Regions from separate parts of the Homo sapiens genome. Here regions 2, 3 and 4 are each linked to region 1. Evidence: promoter capture Hi-C in 16 types of primary human blood cells and fetal thymus (Javierre and others, 2016). All regions are on one chromosome and are shown on one strand. The core of a region is centred on a gene start or on the middle of the fragment in contact, and the rest is flanking DNA. Distances in the headings are between cores, read along the strand shown. Region 1 holds the start of TLL1 (tolloid like 1). Region 2 has its middle 130 kb from the start of MIR578. Region 3 has its middle 110 kb from the start of LINC01179. Region 4 has its middle 73 kb from the start of LINC01179.

Region 1 (3,165 bases), core at 214-2,713:
AACTTAAAAACATTTTTCTTTTCAGTTTATTTTAAATGGGCAAATGCATCAGAATCCCATCTAGAAGTGAGTTCTTCCGAGATTGTCACAATCCCTTTCTAGCCTGGAACCCACACTTGAAATTCCTGGTAAAAGAGGGAGCCAAGGTGTCTCCAGGTAGCAATGCCATCCTCCTGTATCTTTTGGGGAACCCTGCCAACTCGCTCTCGAACAAGCGCTGGGAAACCGCGCCCTGGGGGAGAGGGGAAAGAAGACGGTGTCCCTTCCATATGCATAAAGCCCGCTGAGTGTTGGAATTTAAAACCTACAGCAGCAAGCTATATTTACGACTTGTTTCGTTTTGCTGGGGGAGGGGAGAGGGATCAGAAACTCTAGGACCTTATTCCCAAACTGGGAGATGGGAGCTTGGCAGTGGATCCCACTGGCACAGAACTCTAGTCAACTGGGGCCGCAGCGGCTGCCACTTGCGGGTGGGGAAGGGAAGGAAAAGGAGGGGGAGAGAAGGAGGGGCGGCGGAGGGGCTGACGCGGGAGGGAAGGAAACAGGTGAGCTCCCACCGCCACCCATGGGAAACCCAGCGCAGCGGCCCCCGGCGCGCCACCGTCCCAACCTGGAGAGCCACTTACCGGCTTTACACGGGTCCTTGTAATCTATAGTCTCTGTTTTATCCTCTTCGTTCCCATCAAAAGTGTAATCATAATCGAGGCCAGCGCAGACCCATAGCTCCCCGTAGAAAACAATCCCCGAGGCCACCAGCCACACGAGCATCCTCGGGGAAAGCGTTCCCAACCCCATCCTCCTCCCCCGGAGGAAAAGGAGGGGACGGGACCCAGAGGTTAGGCAGCCGCGGTCCGCGCTGATGTGCGGGGCTAGGGGCACCGGTGCTCTTCTCCCCACCCGGAGGCTCCTCGGCGGGACCGGGGTGCTCAGGTGTCCGGAAACATGTGGATGCCGCCGGGACAGTAGAGAGGGCAAGCACTGCCTGTTACCCCCAGTCGCAGGGAGAAGTTGGCTAGGGGCCCACGGGTGGGCGGAGGGCAGGTAAGGAACTCTGCACTCGGAGGCGGGGAGGGCGCAGGCAAACTCGGCTCTGGCGGCGCTGGCGCTCGCAGCCTGCCAGGTCGTCCTTCTGGCTGCCGAACTTCCCGCGGCCGCGGCTCGGCGAGCGGCGCCCCGCGGGCTCAGCTGCCACCAGAGCTCGGACTCCCGCGCCGCGTCCCCGCTGCTGCCAGGACTCCGCGGCCGAGCGCGAGCCGCCGCCGCCTGAGCCCAAAGCCGCCGCCGCAGCTCCGAGAAGATGAATCCGGTCTGCACATCAGCACATCTGAATTGAAAGGGGAGACCGAGGAAGGGGGTGGGGGCCAGGCATTTCTACGCCGCGAGACCTTAAAAGCCTGCAGAAGCCAGCAAAGCAACTGACTGCAAGAGAGCAAAAGTGTGAGGATTTGGGGATGCACTGTTTGCCTTCCCCCCGCCAGCCTGTCTTTTTACCCTCTTCCTAACTTGAAAAAAAAAAATATTCGCACCATCTAACCCAATCACTTGCATCCTGCTTACTTATTCATACAATCAGGGTCAGGATCCGGACCACAGCCTCCTCTCTTGACTTCTTTTGATAGCCTTAGACAAACAAACAGACAGGAGCGCGCTGACAATTCCATTTATATTTTACCAAAGATAAAAATGAATATATTATGTATCTGTGTACGCAAACAGCAATTAATAGATGATGTACGTGTCAGTTGAGAGTGCCAGACCGGGGGTGGAGCGAAGGATCGTGATAACTTAGCTGCAAATCCATATTTCCCCTCCCCCCAAATAAACAGCGAGTGTGTATTTCTTTCCTTTGCTGCTGTTTAACCTTAGAGCAGCGCAGGAATGGAGGAAAAGTGTGCGAGTCTTCACGATTTTGGTAAGAAAATAAACAGACTACTGTTGGTCTCCTAACCAACAAAGTTTTGCTAAGAACTAAGATCCTCAGAACTGCAATTAAAAAAAAAATCCAAAATCGAGTTACAGATTGCAGCAGCAGGAAACGCTGAGACCTTGCCGATGGGCTGGCGCTATGGCTCACGTGGGCGCAGGAAGGGAAGCTGGATGGAATACTCGGGAAGCAAATTTTCTGTGACAGTTCTGGCGCCCATGAGCAGAGTTGCTCAGTATCCTTCGGCTTCAGTAATGTTTTACTTCTTCAGAGGAGAGGGTGTAAAACCTGGCAGGAGGGTCAGCGAGGTAAACCACATGTCAGCCGAGCAGACTCAAGACAAACACAGGTTGTGGGAAATTGGGGAGGAAAAAAATCAGAGGAAATCTCTGTAAAACCCCTGTTGTGAGCAATTCCGAGGTTTCCCCACATCTGCAAGTAGTTTCCAAAATAGGTGAGATGACTTCTCCCCCAACAAGCTTCCAAGGGACTGGTGATTGGGAGCTTTCCTTTTCCAACTAAATCTTTAAAACTGTCACTTTAGCAAGGACTTGTAAAAAAAAAAAAAGCCTTACATATTATTTGACTAGTGTTCCCCCTATCCAAGTTATCATCTAGAGGAATGTATGAAGGTAAACACACACACACACACACACACACACACACACACACACACACAACTTTGACAGATAAAGTCATCTTTGGTTTGGAGATTTTACTAGGTTTTATTCATGTTTGTTAGAGAAAAGTAAGAAGCCAATCTTGAAAAAGTACCAAGTATTTTCAACTTAAACTAAAAGTATAGGAAGGCTAGGTGGAACTGAACTGACCAAGTGTTCTTTGCAAAACTGGGTCTTTCTCAGAGGCCACTGCAATGATGGAGCTTCCCTTCCATAGATCTTAAGCTTTTAATGCCCAGGATACAGAGCAGAAGTAGATTTTTAAAAAGAACATGTTCAATAAGCAGGTAGAGGCGTTTGATTTTGAAATCTCTTGCTGAGTCATTCTCAAATTCTCTTACCCATCCAAAAAAAAAAAAGTTTGCATAATTAATAATAGTGTTGCCCTAGTGCAGAGCTCAACAAGAATATGTCCTGCTTAGCCCATCTGAAAGCCTAGAGAATGCATATGTCATCTAGAGGATTCCTGCTCTTGAGCTGCTGACAGTGTTCCCATTCCCTATCCCAAACCTTAAAAATGTCCCTTGTTAATCTAAATGCCTGCAAACATCTCCTTAGACT
Region 2 (3,165 bases), core at 358-2,857, 360 kb after region 1:
AGCCATTCCTGGGACATGCAGTAGTTGGGTGGCTGAAGTCTCAATCACTTGAGGGAAGGGCAAAGGATAGTATGAAGGTATTAGGCATTAGGTGCCAATTAGGCAAGAGAAAGGGTTAGGTGAGGTTCAGAAACAGAGATTAAAAGGTAAAATCTAACTTGAGGTCTAAGTAGTAGAATTAATTGGTGCCAAATCTAGCATGCCATTCTAGTTGACTAATACACAACCAAACATCATATAGCAGAGACCATTTCAAAGTAAAATATTGAGCATATTATAATATAATGTGTATATATTTAAGAGATAGTATAACACAATTCTGGGTGTAACTGTATAAGAGATAAAGGAAATATGAGTAAACTAATTGATGACTTTCATTGCATTTTATAAATTGGAATCTTTCCTAGAAAAGGAAAAACATATTGATTACAAAAACATTGGTTACAAAATCAGTCTTTCCAGGCCAGGTTCAGTGGCTAATACCTGTAATACCAGTGCTTTGAGAGGCCAAGGTGAGAGAATGGCTTGAAGCCAGGAGTTTGAGACCAGCCTGGGCACCAAAATGAGACTCCATCTCCACACACACACACAAAATAATAATAATTAGCTGGGCATGGTGCTGTGTGCCTGTAGTTGTAGCTACTCGAGAGGCTGTGGTGAAAGGAGCCCTTAAGCCCAAGGGTGCAGTGAGCTGTGATCAGACCATTGTACTCCATCCTGGGCAACAGGGTAAGACCTTGTCACACACACACACACACACACACACACACAAATCAATCTTTTCCCATGAAAAGGAGAATGGTTAGACAAACTATGTTTCATGAACATTTGTTAAACTTATTTGAGTCCTAGCCATTTCAACAAGATCAGGGAAAAATTAACCAATCCATTAGAAAAAATATACACACGCTCCTCACCATAAATCAGAGCTAAAGTGTAGGTCATACCTCAGAATTTCATACTTAGATTCTTAAGTTAACATTCTCCTAGGATAATGTGGTGGTGTAATATATTTCTGAATTATATTTCTTTTTTTTTTTTTTTGAGACAGACTCTTTCTCTGCCACCCAGGCTGGAGTGCAGTGGAGCTATCTCAGCTCACTGCAATCTCTGTCTCCTGGGTTCAAGCAATTCTCCTACCTCAGCCTCCCACGTAGCTAGGATTGCAGGTGCCCGCCACCATGCCCAGCTAATTTTTGCATTTTTAGTAGAGATGGGGTTTCACCATGTTGGCCAAGCTGGTCTTGAACTCCTGACCTTAGGTGATCCACCCATCTCGGCTTCCCGAAGTGCTGGGATTACAGGCATAATCCACCACATCTGGCCTCTGAATTATATTTCTAACAGGTAGATAATGTGGAATACTGGGGAGATCAAGGCTTGGTAGCAGACAAAGCAAAATAAGATGCCATGAGGCTGTCAGTCTGCCTCCTACTACTCATTCTGGCCTTTTGCTGCTAGGAGGCCAATGCAGTGCTCTGTCCAGCCCTTGCTACTAAAATCACAGGCTTCTTATTCACTCAGGATCCTCTGTTCAAGTTACAACTTGCCAATCTTAATGCACTTCTGGAAGCTATTGCTGCCAAGATGGCAGTGAAGAAACGCACAGACAAGATGTCCCTTGGGAACAGACTCTTAATTTTAAAAATATTGGTGAAAATATTGGTGAAATTTAATCTCTGAGGTGTAAAAACTCTTTTATCCTGGTTTCCACTGTCTTTCAGTGATACCCTGATCCTCACTGCAGAATGCAAAGGTTTCAGCTTCTTGCTTTAATAAATTATTGCCCTGCAAAAATAGATACATAGAGAGAGAGACTTGGTAGCAGAAAGGTCTGGGTTTTACTGCTGTCTCTGCCATTTTTACAACCTTGAGAGAATTACTTAATCTCCCTGAGCCTCAGTTTTGTCATCTATAAAATGGGGATTATGCAGTATGTTGTGCAGATTAAATGAAGTAGAAAAAATACCTGGTATATAGTGGGTGCCTAATTATCTACTTTCCTCCATGCTTTCCCCAAGCCCCCTAACCATATACACAGCCAACTTGACAGTTTCAAGATGCCCTTGACCTGATAATGTACCCAAATAACTAATTTCAATTGCTTTTCATAGAGCCAGTCTGCTGGACTAAATTGACTCTTCAAGTGAGTTGAAACAGTTAAACTGACAGTTATGAAAAAGCCTTAAAGTCAAACAGAACATTATAGCAGATTTTACGGGGGATTAAGATTGCTTCTGTTGTTCTCTTTGAAGAGAACGGATGGCGTGACTGAACACAAATCCTCACGGTGCTCCTGGGCACTTTGCAATATGAAACGTGTTGGATGATTGCTTCACTGTGTTATAATACATCTGCCATCAGCTTCAAGGTGAGCACTCTATTATTTTTACAGCTGTACTCCTTTTCCTGGAATTTTGAAATTTCAAGAGGAAAACAACAATTTCAGATCTGTGGAGCAAAGGTAGGTGTGATCTTGTAATCTCTTAGCTCATCCTACTGGGTTGGCATAGGCCAGAAACCTACGGAAATGGGACTGAATCCAAGCTGAAGTCTTGGACTGCCATACATCAGCCTAAGAGCTCTTGGATGAAATGCTAGAGAGAGCCTCATCACCTGTGCTTTTGATGGATGGAAGCACTACTTCAGTAGAGCTGAGGGCTTCCCTGCAGATGTATAAAGGTTACAGATCTTGCTCCCGCCATGTGCCAACTGATCCAATCCCAAGACCTCCCAATTACTCCCACCTGGTCCTGCTGCTTCATCCCACTGGTGGCTCCCTCCGTATTTCCTCCCACTGCGGACATCCCACTTTCCAGATGCTCTGTTTGCCATTGTTTCCACTGAGAGATGCTCCAGCAGGTTGGAGCACTGGTTGGGACATGGCTAGTGAGAGCATTTTGTGTTATAAATGTACTTACATGTATTTGTGTTACAATCATATGAGTTCTATTCTTGGCTCAGGCTCTGGTGATTGTGAACAGGTGACTTACTTACAGTTAGCCAAACTGCAAAGTTGGAGGACATGGTCCTTCAGACTGCCAAGTCCACTCAAGACTTTCTGACACCAACGGCAAGGAGTTACAGCCCAACTACAAAGCTAAAAGGGAAAGTCAACACAAAATCTCCCACACTTCTGACACCAACCGCAAGGTCAAGAGGTTC
Region 3 (3,165 bases), core at 408-2,907, 300 kb after region 1:
ATCATCAAGTCCTTTTCCTTACGTTAATCTAACTCTCCAGAGAAATATTACCCCATCTCCTGCCTAAGGGATGGGATTGGAGTGGGTAAAGGGCTGGTAGGTGGCTCTACCTATTGTTTCTCTAATTCTTTTCTTTTTTTTTCCTGCTGGTCCGGTCCACACTCAGAATTGTCCTCAGCTGTGTCTAGCGTCTCCTCATTCTAGACCCTGTCTTACTCATTATTTTTCTGGAAAATAAATCTCCATTCTCCCGCCAGATAAATATATGTGTATGTGGAAAGGTCAGGGGGCAAGTGGAGGTTAGTTGGGAGTGATCATTGCTGGTTGTGCCAGATACTGGGGAAATTTTTCAGGTTTAGATCTCGTGTACCCCATAGATGTATGCACCTACTATGTACCCACAAAAATTAAAAAGTATTTTTAAAAACCCAGATTTACATGTTCTTTATACAGACTCTTAATCTTCTCATTTTCCTTCTTACCGGTCAAACTCATGCTTTCAGAGGAATCTGGTCCCTGAAATTCCAGAGCTTTTTCTGGGGTCCTGATAGGTAAATCATTCTGTTTCTTGTTGGCTTCCCCAAGCCATTTACCACACAACTTTCTTGGAGGAGGCAGGGCGAATACAGCACACACACAGAAAATTATGGATATAGGAACTATTATTTTTTAAAAAAATAAACATGTACCTGCCTCTCAGCCTAATAAACAGAGCATTACTGATGCTTTTTGAAGCTTTCCTTGGAGAGTCCCTTCCCAGTCACTTCCCCTTCTTCTGTTCTGAGTATAATTATCATGTCAATGGCTTGTGCTCATCATGACCTTGCTTCTTCATATAGTGTCTCTGCATACACTATACATGTTACTGCTAAATAACATACTTTTTAATTCTACTTAATTTTTAACAGTATATATTATATATATTAATATATATTACATATAAACATTATATAGAGTTTATATATAATATTATATATATTGTGTTTATATATATATAATATTATATGTATAGTGTTGGCTGGGCACAGTGGCTCATGCCTGTAATCTCTTGGCACATTGGGAGGCCAAGGCAGTCACCTGAGGTCAAGAGTTCGAGACCAGCCTGGCCAACATGGTGAAACTCCGTCTCTACTAAAATTACAAATATTAGCCAGGCATGGTGGCACATGCCTGTAATCCCAGGTACTAGGTGGGGCTGAGGCAGGAGAATCTCTTGAGCCTAGGAGGCAGAGGTTGCAGTGAGCTGAGATGACACCATTGCACTCCAGCCTGGGTGACAAGAGCGAAACTTTGTCTCAAAAAAAAAAAAGAAGTATGTTATTCATATATATATATATGGAATTATGCCATTTATATTTGGGAGTTCATTTATTTGTTCTTTTGACTGTTGATGCAAAATTGAGTTGATCCAGTATTTGCTGGCATGTCTTCTGGCGCACACTTGCAAGAATTTTTCCGAAGAATTAGACATAATATTATAGGACTGTGTGAATTTGTACCTTCAGCTTTATTAGGCAATTCCAAATTGTTGTCCAGGGGTTGTACCAATTTACATTCCCCCAAAATACATTCACTTCCCAGTGTTCTTCATCCTCTCCAATGGTAATGTTGCCACACTTGCTTTGCAACTTCCTAAATTTGGTTGACATCTCTCATATGTTGTGTGTGGTTCTTTTTTGTCTTTGGTGAATTTCTTTTTTTTTTTTTTTTTTTTTTTTTTTTTTTTTTTGAGACGGAGTCTCGCTGTGTCGCCCAGGCTGGAGTGCAGTGGCGCGATCTCAGCTAACTGCAAGCTCCGCCTCCTGGGTTCATGCCATTCTCCTGCCTCAGCCTCCAGAGTAGCTGGGACTACAGGTGCCCGCCACCACACCCGGCTATTTTTTTTTTGTTTGTTTTAGTATTTTTTGTAGAGACGGGGTTTCACCGTGTTAACCAGGACGGTCTCAATCTCCTAACCTCGTGATCCGCCTGCCTCGGCCTCCCAAAGTGATGAGATTACAAGTGTGAGCCACCGTGCCCAGCCTGGCGAATTTCTACTTTACTTATTTTGCTCTGCTGTCATTTTAATGGGCTTTCAGAAGGAAACAGAGGTAAATGAATGCAAACAACCCATCATATTTAACTGGAAGATCCACATAGGAGTCTTTATTCCTTATTTCAGAAAAGTAAAATAACTTACAAGAAAGGGAAAATAACTTTTTATTTACCTTGTTGCTCTCGAACAAAGATAATTTACAACATTAAGCCTTCGTGGGAGCTATTCAAATCAATAGTTTTAAAGTTATAAACTGATAAAGCCTATTAGGAGTGTTGGTTAGGGGTGGTAATTCAAAGAAGGTAAGAATTACAAAGAATTCTCAGCAGCCCCTTTGAATTGCTGCTGTGCCCAAAATATTGGAAGGAAAACATGTGGGGTTTTTTTTTAAGTTAATAGATAAATAACAGTTTGCTTTCCTCATGTTTGTGCCGTATTGCCTTCTCCTGTTCCGAGGAAAATGTCTCCACAGCTTTTTGCATATTCCTTCCAAATGTTTGAATAGCAGTTTTGTGTCTTCTCTTTTATTACTAACCAAGCTTTTCCTCATTAATATCTATCTCTCTTTTACATCTAGGCTACTCATTTTTACTGCCATATAATTTTCTTTGTATAAATATCTCACAATTTTATTTGTTCTTTCTACTGTTGATAAATAATTGAGATGATCCATTTTTTGCTGGCAAACAACAACTTAAATACTAAAATAGACCCTAGATTTAGGGCCATGATATTCAAATAATAAGAAAAATGTATTAGCTCAAGTAACTAAATACTCCAGATGCAGCTTTGTGTTCTAAGGCTATTCATTTTTATATAGCTTTGAGTCCTAATTCAGTAGTTCAAATCATGTCAGTGGGAACCCAAATTTTCTCCTCTCCATTCTTTTTCTGCCATGTTGGTGTCAACCTCAGGTTTTATCAAATGCTTTTTCTTGCACTCACACCTGGACTGGCTCTTGGGGTAGCACAATAGCTTCCAGTTCCAGAGCTCACATCCTGAAATCAGACCATCCAGGAGAATATTGGTCTTTTCAGCAAACATCTCCTAGTATCTCTTTAGATCTGAATGCATTACAGGTTTATCCCTGAACCAATAAAATTCTATGGTCAGGGGCTACGGGAAATGCT
Region 4 (3,165 bases), core at 293-2,792, 260 kb after region 1:
TTTCTCTCAGCTTTCAAAGGAACTAATGCTACAAACACCTTGATTTTGGACTTCTTTCCCCTAGAACTGTGAGTCAATAAATTTCTGTTCTTTAAGTCACCCAAATTGTGGTATTAATACTTCATTCCAGCAGCCTTTGGAAACTAATACACATACATTTATTTACTATAGTTAAAATGAAAGTGAACCTTCTCATTCATCCCTAAACTAGACTAGAAAACAGAAAGCTATGTAGGCAAAACTCAGTTATGCTAATTGTAGTTTCCTTTCTCATCAGTGGTTCTCAGCCAGAGGAGATAGGCCACCCAGGGGATATTTGGCAACGTCTGGAGACATTATTGGTTGTCACAGCAGGGGGAGTTGCTACTAGCAACTGGTGGGTCTACAGGCCAGGGTTGCTGTTACACAACCTACAAGGCACAACTCAGCCCCTCACAGCAAAGTACTCATTGATAAACTCAGTTTCTGATGATATCAGACCAATTTTTTCTTTATACATAATGAACTGCTATTTTCATTCAACAAATAGTTGAGTGCCTACTGTATTTCATGTGTGTGCACATAAAAGGACCTTTGTTAAAATATATATTCACTTAAATGTCATGAACAACAAGTGCAATGTGAGACGCCACATGCTACAAAAAGTGATTCCTCTGCCAGTGTCATGCTCGTTTGCTTACCGCACCATGCTTATTTAACTAATGTGACGTTCATTATTCTGTTACAGTTTTGCAATTTAAAGTAACATATCACTCCTTCCATGAAATACCTTCTAAATCCTCTGTAATAAATTAGCATGTGTCTGAAGAAAGTAACTGTTCAGAAGCTGGTTTGGGATTTCCTGTTATTGTAAACCTTGTGGGAGGTGACCCAGGCTCAGAGAAAAGAAATTAACAGACAAGCTGCCCGCTACATTCTAACGGACTGGATTGAGACCACATATTTGGTGGTCTCTCTCCTGGTCTCCTGTGCAGTCTTCCTCGTATAGTGTATCTGTCTTCCTAGTTCACAAAGGGATTAAAGCTTTTGTTCGTCCTTTTGAAATACTCCACATCCATCTGACATATATTTAAATGTTTTTGCTCTACTGTCAGAAAAAGTTAAATACTGAATCTTTCTTTAGATAACGTGCAAAGTGTTAATAGGGTTTTTTTTTCTTTGATGAGTTTAAATTCAAATTTCAAATTGAGATGACTGGTGAAAAGATGTCATGTGGTTTCATATAAATGCCTGATGGTCTTTTATCCACATTAGCCATTGTGTATTTGAATCTGATGGACAGTTTTTCTTAAAAAGAAAAAAGATTGGGTCCTAAATAACCCACAGATCAGAATAAAATGCATTGGCAAGTTTGCTTCATGCTGTTAGCGTTTACTCATTTATTTACCATCCAAGTTTATAATATATTTGACTAAGAGGAATCTGTCAACAGCTCCTGCTACCTATGAAAGGGGACCATTTTCTTCCACATAAATGTTTTAGAGCCATTGACCTAATTAATAATAACTCTAAGTTGAAGAGTTTAAATATTAAACTCTTCAAGTTTACAGGGTAATGATTTATTGCAGACAAAAGAAGTTGGGTACTTTTCAAAATTGAAGAACAAACACCTATATTATATACAACAAAAGTGTTGCATTAACTCAAGATATTATGACCTCATGTCACATTTTCAGTTGAATATTATGTCTTTGGAAGAATGTTATAAGCCATGTGACAAGCGTAAATGGAATGAAGAAATCTTTCAACTCCCAGAGGTAGGAGGTCCAAGTCTTTTTGTTTTATATGTTTTTTATAGTGCTTTCGCTGCAGCTTTGAAATGCTGTAAATAAAAGAATAAATTTTAAATGCCACCTAGAAAAACGTTTGTATGTGTCTGCTGTTTACTTATTTGTTTGCTTGTCTCTTGGGAGCATGAGCTCCTCAGGACTCCTGTCAAATACCAGTCTTATTCCCAAAAAAAACAGTGTTTCCTCAGGGAAAATAAGTAAATCCTTTCACCATCACAGAATGAGAAATAAACTAAAGGATGACAGAGATGCATGGAGTGTGTAAGCTTTCATATAAATGCTGTCAGCATAAATTAGGTGTGGTGAGGAATAGAGAAATAGCAGTAGCACCAGAAAGAGTTATGTGCAGGCTTAAGCTGAAAAGAGAATGAGAGAATAAAAAGACAACAGTACATAGTGTAAAGCTTGGAAAGGGCAGCCTGCAGGGAAAAGAAATGTGAAAGATTTTATTGTCGTGCAGGACACAGAGCATGAACAGGCTGCAAGAAAAGGAGAGCGCCAAAGAAGAAAGTCAACCAGAAATAAAAAGTACAGGACAAAGGGCTCGTGAATGTCTAAGGATTCACAGCAAAAGCAGCAAAGCCTCGTTAGAGGAACTGGAATTGAATAGAGATTGAATGAACCTGAAAAGGGGTCTGAGCACACTCTCTAACACAGAAAAGACAACAACAATAGGTGAAGATACACAGGTCACAAAAGCAGCTTTGAAATGCTGGCATCACCAACAGGGTTATTCCCTTAATAATAGTAGACACAGAACTACTATAAACTCCCTGATGTGAAGAGCTCAATGATGTAAAATGAAACTGAAACCTCTATAATATACATCTAATGTATTCTTCTATTTAAGTGATGTTCTTATCAGTTTCATTATTGCAGTCAATTTGATTATTGTCAAAGTATCCGTTTTCATTAAAGTTGCCATGTAAATCTCTAATTCGTTTAGCATCTAAGGTAGAAGTACTTGAGTGGACTTCTTTGAATAAGTGATAGCAGTGATGACAGATAATGGTGCTACTTTGATTGCTTTTGTTTACACTCTTAACTACTATTAAAAAGGACAGATTAAATATATAGCACCCCAAAATGGCTACATGAAATTGTTTTTAACTTGATAACCTCCCTTCTATGGAAGGTGATAGGTCCTCAAGCAGTCAGAGAAATTGAACTGATTTACTTATCCTCACATTACCCTGCTCCAGATTTTCCTTATCTTGTTGATTAGAGTCAGAAATTGCTTAGCGGTGGCTGACAATGCGTATATTATTTCTGGCACAACACAGAACAACATGGAAAAGTTCCATTGAGTTCTTTATGGCCAGTGAAAGTATTCTTGGGCAAATATTTTATATTCATGCAGGGCTTGTTTTACAAC

The links. Contacts are between HindIII fragments. The CHiCAGO score rates a contact against its expected background, and 5 or more counts as called.
Region 2: a contact is called between a fragment that was not itself captured here and the fragment with the promoter of TLL1 in region 1, in 1 of 17 cell types (endothelial precursors). The highest score is 9.1, in endothelial precursors.
Region 3: a fragment that was not itself captured here is called in contact with the fragment with the promoter of TLL1 in region 1 in 1 of 17 cell types (endothelial precursors); the score reaches 6.5 in endothelial precursors.
Region 4: a fragment that was not itself captured here is called in contact with the fragment with the promoter of TLL1 in region 1 in 1 of 17 cell types (endothelial precursors); the score reaches 8.5 in endothelial precursors.

What each region holds. Positions count from the first base shown.
Region 1 is chr4:165,871,535-165,874,699 of GRCh38, reverse strand. It overlaps TLL1 (tolloid like 1), which reads right to left and starts at 1,463. Exons shown (of 21, transcript NM_012464.5): 1 at 627-1,463. The coding sequence starts at 795. The HindIII fragment of the contact is 7,346 bases long and covers 1-2,405 here.
Region 2 is chr4:165,515,746-165,518,910 of GRCh38, reverse strand. It overlaps the pseudogene SCGB1D5P. Among named protein-coding and RNA genes, the nearest start is that of MIR578, 130 kb to the right of the region's middle. The HindIII fragment of the contact is 3,359 bases long and covers 1-3,165 here.
Region 3 is chr4:165,573,328-165,576,492 of GRCh38, reverse strand. No RefSeq gene overlaps it. Among named protein-coding and RNA genes, the nearest start is that of LINC01179, 110 kb to the left of the region's middle. The HindIII fragment of the contact is 1,839 bases long and covers 738-2,576 here.
Region 4 is chr4:165,610,283-165,613,447 of GRCh38, reverse strand. No RefSeq gene overlaps it. Among named protein-coding and RNA genes, the nearest start is that of LINC01179, 73 kb to the left of the region's middle. The HindIII fragment of the contact is 1,033 bases long and covers 1,026-2,058 here.